Regions from separate parts of the Homo sapiens genome. Here all the other regions are linked to region 3. The links are contacts of gene promoters, found by promoter capture Hi-C in human tissues and cell types (Jung and others, 2019). All regions are on one chromosome and are shown on one strand. Each heading gives the region's core, a stretch centred on a gene start or on the middle of the fragment in contact. The rest is flanking DNA. Distances are from core to core; before and after follow the strand shown.

Region 1 (4,181 bases), core at 1,157-3,656, 250 kb before region 3:
TACTGTATCAGACCAGAGACACTCCCCAGCCTCGGAGGTGCAGAGCGGGCCCATGACTCTGAGGTCCCCCTCCCCCGCTATGTCTCATCCCAGAGTGAACTGAAGCTTAGCTGCTTCCTAGCATTCCTGACTCCTCATTCCTAAGGACCAGCAGGCAAGAAGAGGAGCCCCGCAAGAAGAAGGGGGCTCCAGCCATGACTCACGACGGGGTCCGATGGGAAGAGGCCTTTCCCACCAGGCAGAACAGGTGAAACCACCTCACAAGCAGCAGGAAAAACAAGACTTCCTTCTTGAGCTGGACAGTATCATGAAAAGGGTGAAGAAAGGCAGGAGGAAGGTGGCTGGCAAGATCAAACAGCTCCAATCTGCAGCTCCCAGCAAGATCAACACAGAAGGCGGGTGATTTCTACATTTCCTACTGAGGTACCCAGCTCATTTCATTGGGGCTGATTAGACAGTGGGTGCAGCCCACAGAGGGCAAGCACGGTGGGGAATCACCTCACCCAGGAAGCACAATGGGTCGGGGAACTCCCTCTTCCAGCCAAGGGAAGCCGTGAGGAATGGTGCATTCTGGTCCAAATACTATGCTTTTCCCACAGTCTTCGCAACCCACAGACCAGGAGATTCCCTTCAGTGCTTACACCACCAGGGCCCTGGGTTTCCAGCACAAAACTGGGCGACCATTTGGGCAGACACCGAGCTAGTTGCAGGAGTTTTTTTTCATACCCTAGTGGTGCCTGGAACGCCAGCGAGGCAGAACTGTTCATTCCCCTGGAAAGGGTGCTGAAGTCAGGGAGGCAAGTGGTCTAGCTCAGTGGATCCAACCCCCACAGAGCCCAGGAAGCTAAGATCCACTGGCTTGAAATTCTCGCTGCCAGCACAGTAGTCTGAAGTCGACCTGGGGTGCTCGAGCTTGGTGGGAGGAGGGACGTCCACCATTACTGAGGCTTGAGTAGGTGGGTTTTTCCCTCACAGTGTAAACAAAGCCGCCAGGAAGTTTAAACTGGGTGGAGCCCTCCAGAGCTGGGCAAAGCCGCTGTAGCCAGACTGCCTCTCTAGATTCCTCCTCTCTGAGCAGGGCATCTCTGAAAGAAAAGTATTAGCCCTAGTCAGGGGCTTATACATAAAACTCCCATCTCCCTGGGACAGAGCACCTAGGGGAAGGGGTGGCTATGGGCATAGCCTCAGCAGACTTAAACATCACCGCCTGCTGGCTCTGAAGAGATCAGTGGCTCTCCCAGCACAGCGCTCAAGCTCTGCTAAGGGACAGACTGCCTTCAAGTAGGTCCCTGACTCCCGTGCCTCCTGACTGGGTGTTTACCTCCCAGCAGGGGTCAACAGACACCTCATACAGGAGAGCTCCGGTTGACATCCGGAGGGTGCCCTTCTGGGACAAAGCTTCCAGAGGAAGGAACAGGCAGCAATCTTTGCTGTTCTGCAACCTCTGCTGGTGATATCCAGGCAAACAGGGTTTGGAGTGGACCTCCAGCAAACTCCAGCAGACCTGCAGCAGAGGGACCTGGCTTTTAGAAGGAAAAGTAACAGAAAGGAATAGCATCAACATCAACAAAAAGGACATCCACACAAAAACCCCATCCAAAGGTCACCAACATCAAAAACCAAAGGTAGATAAATCCACAAAGATGAGGAATAACCAGTGCAAAAAGGCTGAAAATTCCAAAAACCAGAATGCCTCCTCTCCTCCAAAGGATCACAACTCCTTGCCAGCAAGGGAACAAAGCTGGACGAAGAATGTGTTTGACAAACTGACAGAAGTAGGCTTCAGAAGGTGGGGAATAACAAATTCCTCTGAGCTAAAGGAGCATGTTCTAACTTAATGCAAGGAAGCTAAGAACCTTGAAAAAAGGTTAGAGGAATTGCTAACTAGAATAACCAGCTTAGAGAAGAACACAAATGACTTGACGGAGCTGAAAAACACAGCACGAGAACTTCATGAAATATACACAAGTATCAGTAGCTGAATCGATCAAGTGGAAGAAAGGATATCAGAGATTGAAGATCAACTTAATGAAATAAAGCATGAAGACAAGATTAGAGAAAAAAGAATGAAAAGGAACAAACAAAGCCTCCAAGAAATATGGGACTATGTGAAAAGCCCAAACCTACGTTTGACTGATGTACCTAAAGTGACGGGGAGAATGGAACCAAGTTGGAAAACAAACTTCAGGATATTATCCAGGAGAACTTCCCCAACCTAGCAAGACAGGCCAACATTCAAATTCAGGAAATACGGAGAACAGCACACTCCACGAGAAGAGCAACCCCAAGACGCAATCATCAGATTCACCAAGGTTGAAATGAAGGAAAAAATGTTAAGTGCAGCCAGAGAGAAAGGTCAGGTTACCCACAAAGGGAAGCCCATCAAACTAACAGCAGATCTCTCTGCAGATACCCTAAAAGCCAGAAGAGAGTGAGGGCCAATATTCAACATTCTTAAAGAAAAGAATTTTCAACCCAGAATTTCATATCCAGCCAAACTAAGCTTCATAAGCGAAGGAGAAACAAAATCCTTTACAGACAAGCAAATGCTGAGAGATTTTGTCACCACCAGGCCTTACAAGAGCTCCTGAAGGAAGCACTAAACATGGAAAGGAAAAACTGGTACCAGCCACTGCAAAAAGATGCCAAATTGTAAAGACCATCAACACTATCTATGAAGAAACTGCATCAACTAACGGGCAAAATAAGCAGCTAGCATCATAATGACAGGATCAAATTCACACATAACAATATTAACCTTAAATGTAAATGGGCTAAATGCCCCCAGTTAAAAGACACAGACTGGGCCGGGTGTGGTGGCTCGCACCTGTAATCCCAGCACCTTGGAAGGCCGTGGCAGGTGAATTACCTGAGGTCGGGAGTTCGAGACCAGCCTGACCAACATGGAGAAACCCCGTCTCTACTAAAAATACAAAATTAGCCAGGTGTGGTGGCACAGGCCTGTAATCCCAGCTACTCGGGAGGCTGAGGCAGGAGAATCGCTTGAACCCGGGAGGCAGAGGCTGCAGTGAGCCAAGACCACACCATTGCACTCCAGCCTGGACAACAAGAGCGAAACTCCATCTCAAAATAAATAAATAAAAAGACAGACTGCAAATTGGATAAAGAGTCAAGACCCATCAGTGTGCTGTATTCAGCAAACCCATCTCATGTACAAAGACTCAAAATAAAGGGATGGAGGAACATTTACCAAGCAAATGGAAAGCAAAAAAGAAGCAGGGGGTGCAATCCTAGTCTCTGATAAAACAGACTTTAAACCAACAAAGATCAAAAAAGACAAAGAAGGGCATTACATAATGGTAAAGGGATCAATGCAATAAGAAGAGCTGGCAGGGCGCAGTGGTTCATGCCTGTAATCCCAGCACTCTGGGAGGCCGAGACAGGTGGATCACGAGGTCAGGAGATCGAGACCATCCTGGCTAACACGCTGAAACCCCGTCTCTACTAAAAAATACAAAAAAAATTGGCTGGGCGTGGTGGCGGGCACCTGTAGTCCCAGCTACTTGGGAGGCTGAGGCAGGACAATGGCGTGAACCTGGGAGGCGGAGCTTGCAGTCAGCCAAGATCGCGCCACTGCTCTCCAACCTGGGCGACAGAGCAAGACTCCGTCTCAAAAAAAAAAAAAAAAAAAAAAAGAAGCGCTAACTATCCTAAATCTGTATGCCCCCAATAGAGGAGCACCCAGATTCATAAAGCAAGTTCTTAGAGACCTAGAAAGAGACTTACACTGCCACACAATAATAGTGGGAGACTTTAACACCCCACTGTCAATATTAGACAGATCGGGACAGAAAATTAACAATACTCAGGACTTGAATTCAGCTCTGGACCAGGCAGACCTAATAGACATCAAGAGAACTCTCCACCCCAAATCAACAGAATACACATTCTTCTCAGCACCACGTAGCACTTACTCTAAAATTGACCACATAATTGGAAGTAAAACACTCCTCAGCAAATGCCAAAGAACGGAAATCATAACAAACAATCTCTCAGACCAAAGTGCAATCAAATTAGAACTCAGGATGAAGAAACTCACTCAAAACCGCACAACTACATGGAAACTCAACAACCTGCTCCTGAATGACTACTGGGTAAATTACGAAATTAAGGCAGAAATAAAGAAGTTCTTTGAAACAAATGGGAACAAAGAGGTAATG
Region 2 (4,419 bases), core at 1,697-4,196, 190 kb before region 3:
CTTTTTTTTTTGTAATTACATATGCTCCCCCTGTGAAGCAAACTATAGAATGTAAAAGCCCTCTCTCGGCAAAAAGAAGTGGAAACCAGCCAGGCGTGGTGGCTCACACCTGTAATCCCAGCACTTTGGGAGGCCAAGGCAGGCGGATCGTGAGGTCAGGAGTTCGAGACCAGCCTGGCAATATGGAGTAACCCGTCTCTACGAAAAATACAAAAACTGGCCGGGAGTGGGGGCGCACGCCTGTAATCCCAGCTACTTGGGAGGCTGAGGCAGAAGAATCGCTTGAACCCAGGAGGTGGCGGTTGCGGTGAGCTGAGGTCGCGTCACTGCACTCCAGGCTGGACGATAGAGCGAGACTCCGTCTCAAAAAAAAAAAAAAAAGTGGAAACCAGACCTCCTAAAATCGGAGTCTGATGTGCGAAGGCACTGTCACCCACCAGTAAGGGGCACTCCAGTCTCAGCTCCTAAGATGGTGTCCAGTCTTCTCCAGCTCCTGTTCATGTTTCTTTTCTTTAAATGCCCACCTTTTAATAATTCCAGAACTCAAAAGCCCATGTTAGTATCAGATTGTGAATTCATCATCCGATGAGTCAACAAGGATTAAAGAGTGACCTGGTACCGGAAGTGAAACTAGACGAACCCAATACTAACACAGAGACACGCGTACTTATTTCTGGATGGCTGACAAATCCCATGCTGAATGCCAAAGCTAAATGCAATGAAATAAAAAATGCATGCACCTTGCTAAAGAAATTGGAAAGCAGATCGTGAAAGTTCTTTTTATAGCAATTTGTCTAACATCCGCTGCCTGAGCCCTCAGCCCTCTCCACATATAAAATCTTAAAAAACATGCAGGAGTAAAACTTTGTGCTCGGATCCCAGGAGCCATGCCCAAGAATGCACTGGGCTCCACAGCACCTACGGGAGCCCAGCCAGCGCCCACGAGCAGCTGCGGTGAACAGTCCTCAGTGAGACACTCCACAGCAGCGGAAATGTGGAAAAGTGAAGATGAAGTCAAGAAGAACCTAAGAACGTAACGTGGGATAAGGGAATAACAAAAGCCAGTCTCAGAAAGAGACATCATTGGCAAAGGTGTAAAAACTAGTTCGTGGTGTAAGCACATGCGGCAAAATACAAAGAAAAGCAAAACAGTGACTAACACAAGGTGTGAGGCAGGTGAGCCCACGCAGCCGGCAGTGACTGCAAGATACCCAGGCGTCCGCTCTCGGGCTGTTCTTTGCACCTGACTCAAGTTTCATACCTACATCTTACCAATTCCGTTCTCAAAAACTCATGTGAAGTCTTGGATGTAGCAGTGTTTCTTCCTCATTACAACACAGAAACTAAGGTTCCACTGAGCCAGTAAACAAGAACTGTAAAACTGAAAACTGTCAAAGGAAAAACTCTTTCCCAATTACTACTTACACAGTACAAAAACCAGTTTGAAATAAGGCGAGTTATTTAATCCCTAAAACTTACAAAACGCGTTTGTCCTTATGACTAACTCGAGTCTAGCTGGGGCACAGGCCACTGTCAAACAGGGCAACGCCTACTCAGCGTTTTCCAAACTGGTCAACTGAACTCTTCTCTGGAAGGGCTGTCTCCTTTAGTCTTACTCTAAAAAGGGTAATTTTTCACCAGAATAAAGGCAAATATTTTAAGAATGCTTCAAATGAAAAGAGGATTGCAGAAATATTAACCTTTAATTGTACCTGAAACAAAGCACCTGAAATTAATAAAGAAGTCAGCCACTGACGAGAATCACTAGGTCTGTCCTGTTCCCAGGGCACGAAACAGAAGCGTCTTAATCCACTAAGCACATTAGGGCCTAACAAACTGGACTGAGTAACAAGGTTACCTAGTTCTTCCAAACAGGAATTAACCAAAGGGGATCATTATGATTAAGCACAATGCGCGGAATACGCAATTTCTAGTTGGGGAATTCAACAGCTGACAGCTTGTAAGCATCAAAATTCATAACAAGTGCAAGGCTCGGAATCACAGGTCCAGCACTGGACGATGCCCGGCGCGCCGGGAAGCGGCGCCTCAGACGGCGGCCCCGCGTCCCCATGGTCCCTCCCTGCGCCCAGAACCGGGCAGCTCCTTCCCGCCGCCGCCGCCGCCAACGGGAGGCTGGGGGCACTCCCGAAATAGGAGCGGAAGCCCCGACCCACGCCGCCCTCCGCCGCAGGGACGCCCACTCGCCAGGTGACCGCGTCCCCACGCTCCGCGTTGCCCGGGCGCCGCCAGGACCTCGGAGGCGGCCGGCCCAGCCCCGACCCTGTGCGGACGCGGCACAAAGGCGCGGCGCGCGGACCCCGACCCGGCCGGACCCCGGCCGCGTCCCCCGGCCCCGGCCCGCGCCCCTGGCCCCCGCCCCGCGCCCCTCACCCGGCCCACCTCGGCCGTAGGCCTTGGCGCAGATCCACTGCAGGTTGGCGGCGATCTTGGCGCGCGCCGCGTCGTAGCGGTCCAGGGGCACGAGGTCGGCGGCGCCGTCCGGCGGGGCCTCCATCTTCCTCCAGCCCTCGGCGGCGGCGCGGCCGCTCGCGTCCACCATCTGCAGACAAAGGGCTGAGGCGGCGGCCCGGCCGCAACAAAGGCGCCGCCGCCCCTCGCCGCGCCGGGCCCGGTGCGCCCCGAGCCACCACTCGGCCCCGCAGCCGGCCAGCCGGGAGGGGCGCCCGAGCGCGGCCCCCGCCTCACCTCACAGCCGCCGCCGTCGCCGCCCCCGCGGCTGCTGCATGCTGCGGGCGCTGAGCCCGAGCGGAGGAGGTGCCGAGCCCGCGGCCCAAAGAGGCGGCGGCAGGAGGGCGCGGGCCGGGGGCGGGGGCGGGCGCGGGGGCGGGAGCGGGCCGGGGGCGGTGGCAGCGCGTGCGCGGTCCCGGGTGAGCGGCGGCGGCGGCGACAGCGGCTGAGGCGGTGGCCAAGGAGCGGGAGCGCGCTCACCGCCGGGGCCTCGCACAGGCGCAGTAGGCACCGCCCGCCACCCCGCCCTCGACCCCGCCCCCAGCTCCGCTCCCTTCTCGCGCCTGCCCCGCCCCTTTCCGCAGGCGCAGTAGGCACCGCCCGCCAGCCCGCGCCCGCCCCGCCCCTTTCCGCAGGCGCAGTAGGTGGCACCCGCAGGCCTGTGCCTGCCCCGCCCCTTTCCGCAGGCGCAGTGAGCGTCGACCCGCCCCTCCCCGCCCGCTTCCGCAGGCGCAGTAGGACCCGCCCTGGTCCGCGCCTGCCCCGTTGCTTTCCTCAGGCTCTAAGGCCCGCGGTGTGGAGCGCGGCGTAGGCAGCGGGGAGTGGGCGGCGCGGGGTGGGTGGAGTGGGTCGGCGGCGGGGATCCTGCCGAGCCCGCAGCTGCCCTCTTTTAGCGCCGTGTCTCCTCCCCGGCCCTGGCTCGTCCCACCTCAGCCACAGCCCGGCCCCCTGGCCGGCCGAGGTCTCGCCGCCGGCGCCCTGGGGACCTCGTGGGTGTGGCCGGCGGCGACCTCGGCAGGCGACAGCCCAGCAGACGGGCACCAGGTGGACGTGCCAGTCTCCAGACCCCCGTCCCGGTGCAGGGAAGGTGGGCGTTTGGACCCCTGAGGCAGAAACAGGTGCGGCCCCGCCGGCGCATCCCCCGGAAGGGACGCTGACTTCGTTCCCCTGGAGCCTGCGTCGGGGCCCGCGCTGGGCTGAGAATTACGGGAACGCCGTGAGAGTTTGCATTCCGAGGATTTGGTCTGAGAACCTCACCAGCGAAATAGAGAACTGCCCCCGGGAGAGCCGGCCCACGTGCCGCCCACCGGCGCCTTGACGGCAGGGAGAGGTCGAGCTTCCAGGGAGCGGGCGCCCGGCGCGGGGCTCCCAGCCTGTCTGTACCTGGTCGAGACACCCCGTGCCAGAGGCGGAACATGTATGAAATGCCAGGTGCCCAGAGGACCCAGGCAGTCCGTCATTCACATACCAACCCACGTGCAGGCTTCAATTCAACCTTGAAGCCATTTGGGCCTGGGCTTTTTTGATGACTTATTTGATTCATAGTTTTTTGGTTACTAATTGAGTCTCTTCACTTGTTATAGGTCTGTTGAGATTGTCTATTTTTTCTTGAGTCAGCCGTCTGAAAAGAACACGAGGTGGACAGGGCAGAGCGGTCAAGGAAAGCCATAGGAGGAGGGCACTTATTTGAGCAAAGACCGGCGGGACGTGGGCGTCGAGGGTAAGGATATCTGCAGAAGTACTGTCTTGAGCAAGGAGCACGGCAGACAGAGCCTCTGAGACACGAGAGCCTGGAGTGTAAGAAACACAGTAGAGGCCACTAAGTCGAGAACGCAGGAGCTGGAAGGACTGGTAGGAAATGGGAGGTGGGGACATGGAGGGATGCAGACAGGTCCTGCACAGTCAGAACTGTGGCCCCTTCTCTGCAGGAAATGGGCAGCCTTCGGAAGA
Region 3 (4,499 bases), core at 1,840-4,339:
GCCAGGAAAGGAACGAAATGCTGGGGAGAGGGCACTTCGGGGAAGGCCCAGGACCCAGGGAGCTGGGTCTGCAGACACTCACCGCCGGGGAGCCTGACCGGAGATGGGGTGAGAGGCCCCAGTGAGCCAGCTCTACACAGGTTCCCAAGACCCCTCATCAGCCCCCAGTGAGACCAGACCCAGTCAGACCTCACAAACTCCCGCACCTGCCCACATGCATCAGACGGCGGCTCAGGTCCAGCGTCCAGACGGGCTAGCGCTACTTCTCTCCTGCCTTGGAGGGCGCTCCACGGCCTCACACCACAGGGCTTTGCTTCTCCTTCGAGCCACGCCTGGAAGCCCAGCCCCAGGTTTCCTCAGCCCAGGCCAGAAATGTCACCCTGAAGTGGAAGGTGGCCTACCTTGTCCTCAGAACCACAATGGGAGGCTGGTCAGCCTGGGCCACTGAGGCAGGGACATGTGCTACCAAGGTGAAGGTGGACTGGGCCGGAGGAGCAGCAGAGTCAGGGGGCCCCATAGTCAAGTTCCCAAATGTGTTCGTTACACTGGGGTCTGTAGAAGGCCTTGGTTCTCCGGAGAAACATGCTGGTGTATCCTGGGGTAAGGGGTGCCACCTGCTGCCCCCCTGTGGACTCCGACCCTCATCCCACCGGCCACAGTCCAACTGGATCTCGGAACCCACTGCGTGACCCTGCAAAGGGGATGGAGTGACCCCAAGGGGCTGTGAGATGCAGAGAGGCAGCCTGGGGACAGTGTGTGGAGGTGGCTAGAACAGGGCTGGCTGAGGAAGGAACATGGGCTCTGCCCCACTGACGGTGGCTGGGGCCACTGGGCACTCGGTGCCCTGTGCGTTCCAGGGACACAGGTCAGAGGCACAGACCTCAGAGGAAGGGGCACAAGGTGGAACCTTGGGAACTCAACATCCCGAAAAGGACAACACCTTGGTTCCCCATTCCATCCCTCGGGCCTGGGAGACCACACTGCCCACAAACCAGGAAAGCAGGACTCCGGAGGCAGAGGCCAAGAGGAGTGCAGGCCTGGAAGAACCGCTCAGCACCAAGATCGTCACTGTTGTTTCATGAATAATGCAGCCTCATGCTTTAATTGGAAAACAAAGGGAGGATTGAAGAATTTTTTAAAAGTCACCACTAGCCCCCTGCCCAGGGCAGAGCAGCCCTGCGAACCCTTCCAGCAGCCGGTGGTAAAGAACAGAGCCTGTTCTCGCAGCCTGTAGCAGCCCAGCTCCCACTGCTCCCAGCAGGAGATCTCCCGGGTGGCTCCTCCCCGCCTTCCCGCCAGGCCAGGGCCAGCACCATCGAGCCCTGGGTGTGACCACTGCGAAAGGATCCCTGGCCACTAAGAAGTGACAAGTGATATCTTGTTCCACTCTCTGTGCCCATTCCAAGTGGCTTTGCCGAAAGGACAGGGGGCCACCACCTTGGGTGGCAGCTCCTTTTATTTCCTCCCCTTGGACTCTGGCCCAGCTACCACCCAACAGTGACCCCAGGGGAAAACGCCAAGAGGCCTCTTTAAGGGAGGGGCTGGGAAAGGCCCCACAGAGGACCAGAGGGGTGCTCCAACGGTGGCCGGGAGAAGAAGGGGTGGGTGGCTGAGAGGTGGCGGGTGGGGCGGGGGCTGCCTGAACCCTGACCTAACTCTAGGCGCCCCTGCTGGGGGGTGCTACAGGCTAAAACACCCTGCAGAATGCTGAGCTGAGTGTCCCACTGGAGAACAGGAGGGAAGGAGGTCAGGAGCCTGCCAGACGAAAAGAGGGGTGGGTGAGAAGAAGGGGCGACCTGGAGGGACACGGACTCTGGCAGGAGAGTGCGGCCGCGCTGGCGGGCGGGAACACCAAGGTGCACGCGCTCCCGGAGGCAGCTCCACGGGATGGGAGTCCGGGCTGCCTTGGGCACCCCCGGGTCAGCACCCCCGCCACACACAGGAAGGAACGCGCAGCAGAGAACACAGCTCAGGGCACCCAGCGGCCCAGGGAGACGGGCCCACCAGCACGTGGGTGAAACACCTCCAATCCGGAGGCCCCGCGCGGGGGTTGGGGGAGGGAGTGGAACGGCCTGGGAGGCCAACTCCAGGGACCCGGCCTCGCGGCCTTCAGACCCACAGGTTTAAGCGGCTCCACGACGAGAGTCCAAGACCAAACTTCCCCCAGAGCCTGGCAGAGGGGCTGGGAGGTGACCTCTGACCTCCGACCCCACACGATCCCAGCAAGAGAAGCAGGAAACTCCGTCGGAAGGCCTCGGTCCGCCCTGGCCGTGCGGGGTGCGCGGCGGGCCCCGGGCTCCGCTGAGTTTCTTAGAGAAGGAGCTGGGGCCCCCCGACCTCAGCTCCGCAGAGGCACAGAAGCTGGCAAGAGGCAGAGCCCCCTCCCCCTGCGGCCGGACCCCAGTTTCTCCCCAGGCTGGGGCCCGAGTGGGGGAGGCGCGGGAGGCGGTGACGACCCACGAACGGGCCCACCTGGACCGGGAGGGCGAGGCGCGGGCCCGGCTGGGCCAGGCAGCTGCGCAGATGCGCCGGGAGGGGTGGGTACCTCCGCCCTGGCCCCGGGCCAGTCCTGCCCCGGCTTCCCCACCCGGAGGGCTGGATCGGCCAGTCGGGTCCCTGGGGAGGCCGCGCGGGTCCCCAGAAATCCAGGGAAACCCAGCAGGCGGCGGGGAGCGCCCCGGGACGCCCGGAGCCGGGGTCTCCCCGAACGCGCGGCGCGGCGTCCCGGCCCGGGGTCGCGGGCGCCTCCGCCGGGACCCCCCGGCCCCGCCCGGCCCCCCTCCGCGGGCTCCCGAGGCCGGTTCCCGCGCGCACGCCCGGGCCGGCGCGGAACTCGGCCGCACCCGCCCCGCGCGGCCGGCACTGCGGCAGGGGGCTCGCGCCAAGTTGGGCGGCCGCGGAGTTTGCGGGAAGTGCGGGCCCGGCCCGTGGGACGACCCCGCCCGGCGGCGTAACCCGGGGGCGGCCGCGCGCGCCAAGTTGGCGGTACCTGCGGGCGCCCGGCCCGGTCCGGCCTGGGCAGCTGCGGCGCGCCGCCCGCGGCAGGAAGTGCTTGGCGTCCCGGCGCTCCGGCTCCCATGGACTTTCTCCGACCTCGCCCAGCACCGGCGGCCGCACCGCGGCGGGGGCGGGGCGGCGGCGGGGGAGGTGCCCGCGGGCCGTTAAAGGGACAGCGCGCCGGCCGCGCGCGCGCGCGCACTGGCAGCCAGGTGGGCTCCCGGGGTCGGGGCTGGGGTCCGGGGGCCGGGAGGGTCCCCAGTGGGGGCCGGCGGGGCGTGGGGAACCCCGAGCGCTGGGGAGGGGAGGCGGCAGCTCCTCGCCCCTCGCGCGTCCTCCTTCCGGAGCTGCCGGCGGTCGACCCTGCGCGGGACACCCGGCGGGAGCCGGACGCCGCGGCGCAGAGGACGGAGCTCGGCGGCCGGGTCGGGAAAGGACCTGGAGCGCCGCCCTCCGCCCTCCCCGGGCCCCGGCCTCGGCCGGACTCGCTAAGCCCGGGAGAGCCCCCGGGCCCCCCTACCCCGCCCCCGGCGCGCGCCCTGCCCGCGGCAGTCGCGTCCGCACGGTGCAGCCTCCGGGATCCGGGCGGGGGAAGTGCGCGCATCCGCAGCCGCCCTGGACGCTCAGGCGGGCCGTGAAAGACGAGGATACGGGAGCGCCCTTGGGCGAACGTCTGCGGGGCTCCGGCGCCCGTCCCTGCGGCCCGGGAACTGCAAGCTGCCTGGACTGGGCCTGGCGCTGCCTTCAGGCCTGGTGTGATCCGGGCGCACTGGGGCGTTGACAGTCATTCCGGCACCGGCCACGCAGCTCTCCATCTGCCCAAGGCCACGCTCCTGAGGACAGAGGTGCAGTTTTAAAACAAGGGCACGGAAATAAAACGGCCACACACCCGGAAAGACCCAGAGACCCCTCCTCAGCTGCCCCCTAACCTGGGGCCTGAGGTCAGGACAGGCTGCAGTGGTCCTCAGAGGCTAAGCCAGCCTCACTCCCACAGCACGCTCAAGGGTCCTTGCAGGAGAATGGAGTGATACCGCCTCAGTGGTCCCGAGCGAGGGCGCTGGGAGAAGGGTTGAGAAGGAGATGGCCACCAGCATCCCAGAGAACGCCTTTGGGGCTCTGGGGATCAGAAACCTGGGGCTACAGCCCTTCTGGCACAGTCAGCCAAGGTCATTCCCTGGACAAATCATCAGAAGCTTGGCCAGGTTCTTGTCACCCCAACCTCAAGCTAGGCCCTTGATCTTGGCCACAGACTGGCCCTTGACCCCAACTTTAGGTTCTATTCAGCTCTGCGTCCAGAACACACACACACACACACACACACACTTCACTCCCTGGCTTGCCTTGTATGGGGGTGAGTATGGAACCCCGCAGGGACTCTGGGCTCTCCCCACAGAGTCCCATCTAGACCTAAATGCAGTCCCAGGTCCCACACCCCAACCCCCCTCCCCCCACCACTGCCACTTCCAAACCCGCCCCGCAGTCTACTGTGGGAAGGAGGTGGG

Evidence for each region. Contacts are between HindIII fragments. The study calls those that stand out against the background at their distance.
Region 1: a contact is called between a fragment that was not itself captured here and the fragment with the promoter of NACC2 in region 3, in 4 of the 25 tissues and cell types used here (IMR-90 fibroblasts, dorsolateral prefrontal cortex, heart right ventricle and 1 more).
Region 2: a contact is called between the fragment with the promoter of CAMSAP1 here and the fragment with the promoter of NACC2 in region 3, in 1 of the 25 tissues and cell types used here (dorsolateral prefrontal cortex).

What each region holds. Positions count from the first base shown.
Region 1 is chr9:135,840,241-135,844,421 of GRCh38, forward strand. The region is part of intron 7 of CAMSAP1 (calmodulin regulated spectrin associated protein 1); the gene reads right to left. Among named protein-coding and RNA genes, the nearest start is that of CAMSAP1, 65 kb to the right of the region's middle. The HindIII fragment of the contact is 5,758 bases long and covers 1-4,181 here.
Region 2 is chr9:135,904,600-135,909,018 of GRCh38, forward strand. It overlaps CAMSAP1 (calmodulin regulated spectrin associated protein 1), which reads right to left and starts at 2,947. Exons shown (of 17, transcript NM_015447.4): 1 at 2,401-2,947. The coding sequence starts at 2,560. It overlaps CAMSAP1-DT (CAMSAP1 divergent transcript), which reads left to right and starts at 3,234. Exons shown (of 2, transcript XR_007061860.1): 1 at 3,234-4,320. RefSeq lists an enhancer at 240-1,439 and silencers at 2,086-2,135, 2,536-2,605, 2,686-2,795, 2,836-3,515. The HindIII fragment of the contact is 39,877 bases long and covers 1-4,419 here.
Region 3 is chr9:136,092,200-136,096,698 of GRCh38, forward strand. It overlaps NACC2 (NACC family member 2), which reads right to left and starts at 3,090. Exons shown (of 6, transcript NM_144653.5): 1 at 2,990-3,090. RefSeq lists an enhancer at 1,106-1,797 and silencers at 3,003-3,132, 3,453-3,552. The HindIII fragment of the contact is 19,137 bases long and covers 1-4,499 here.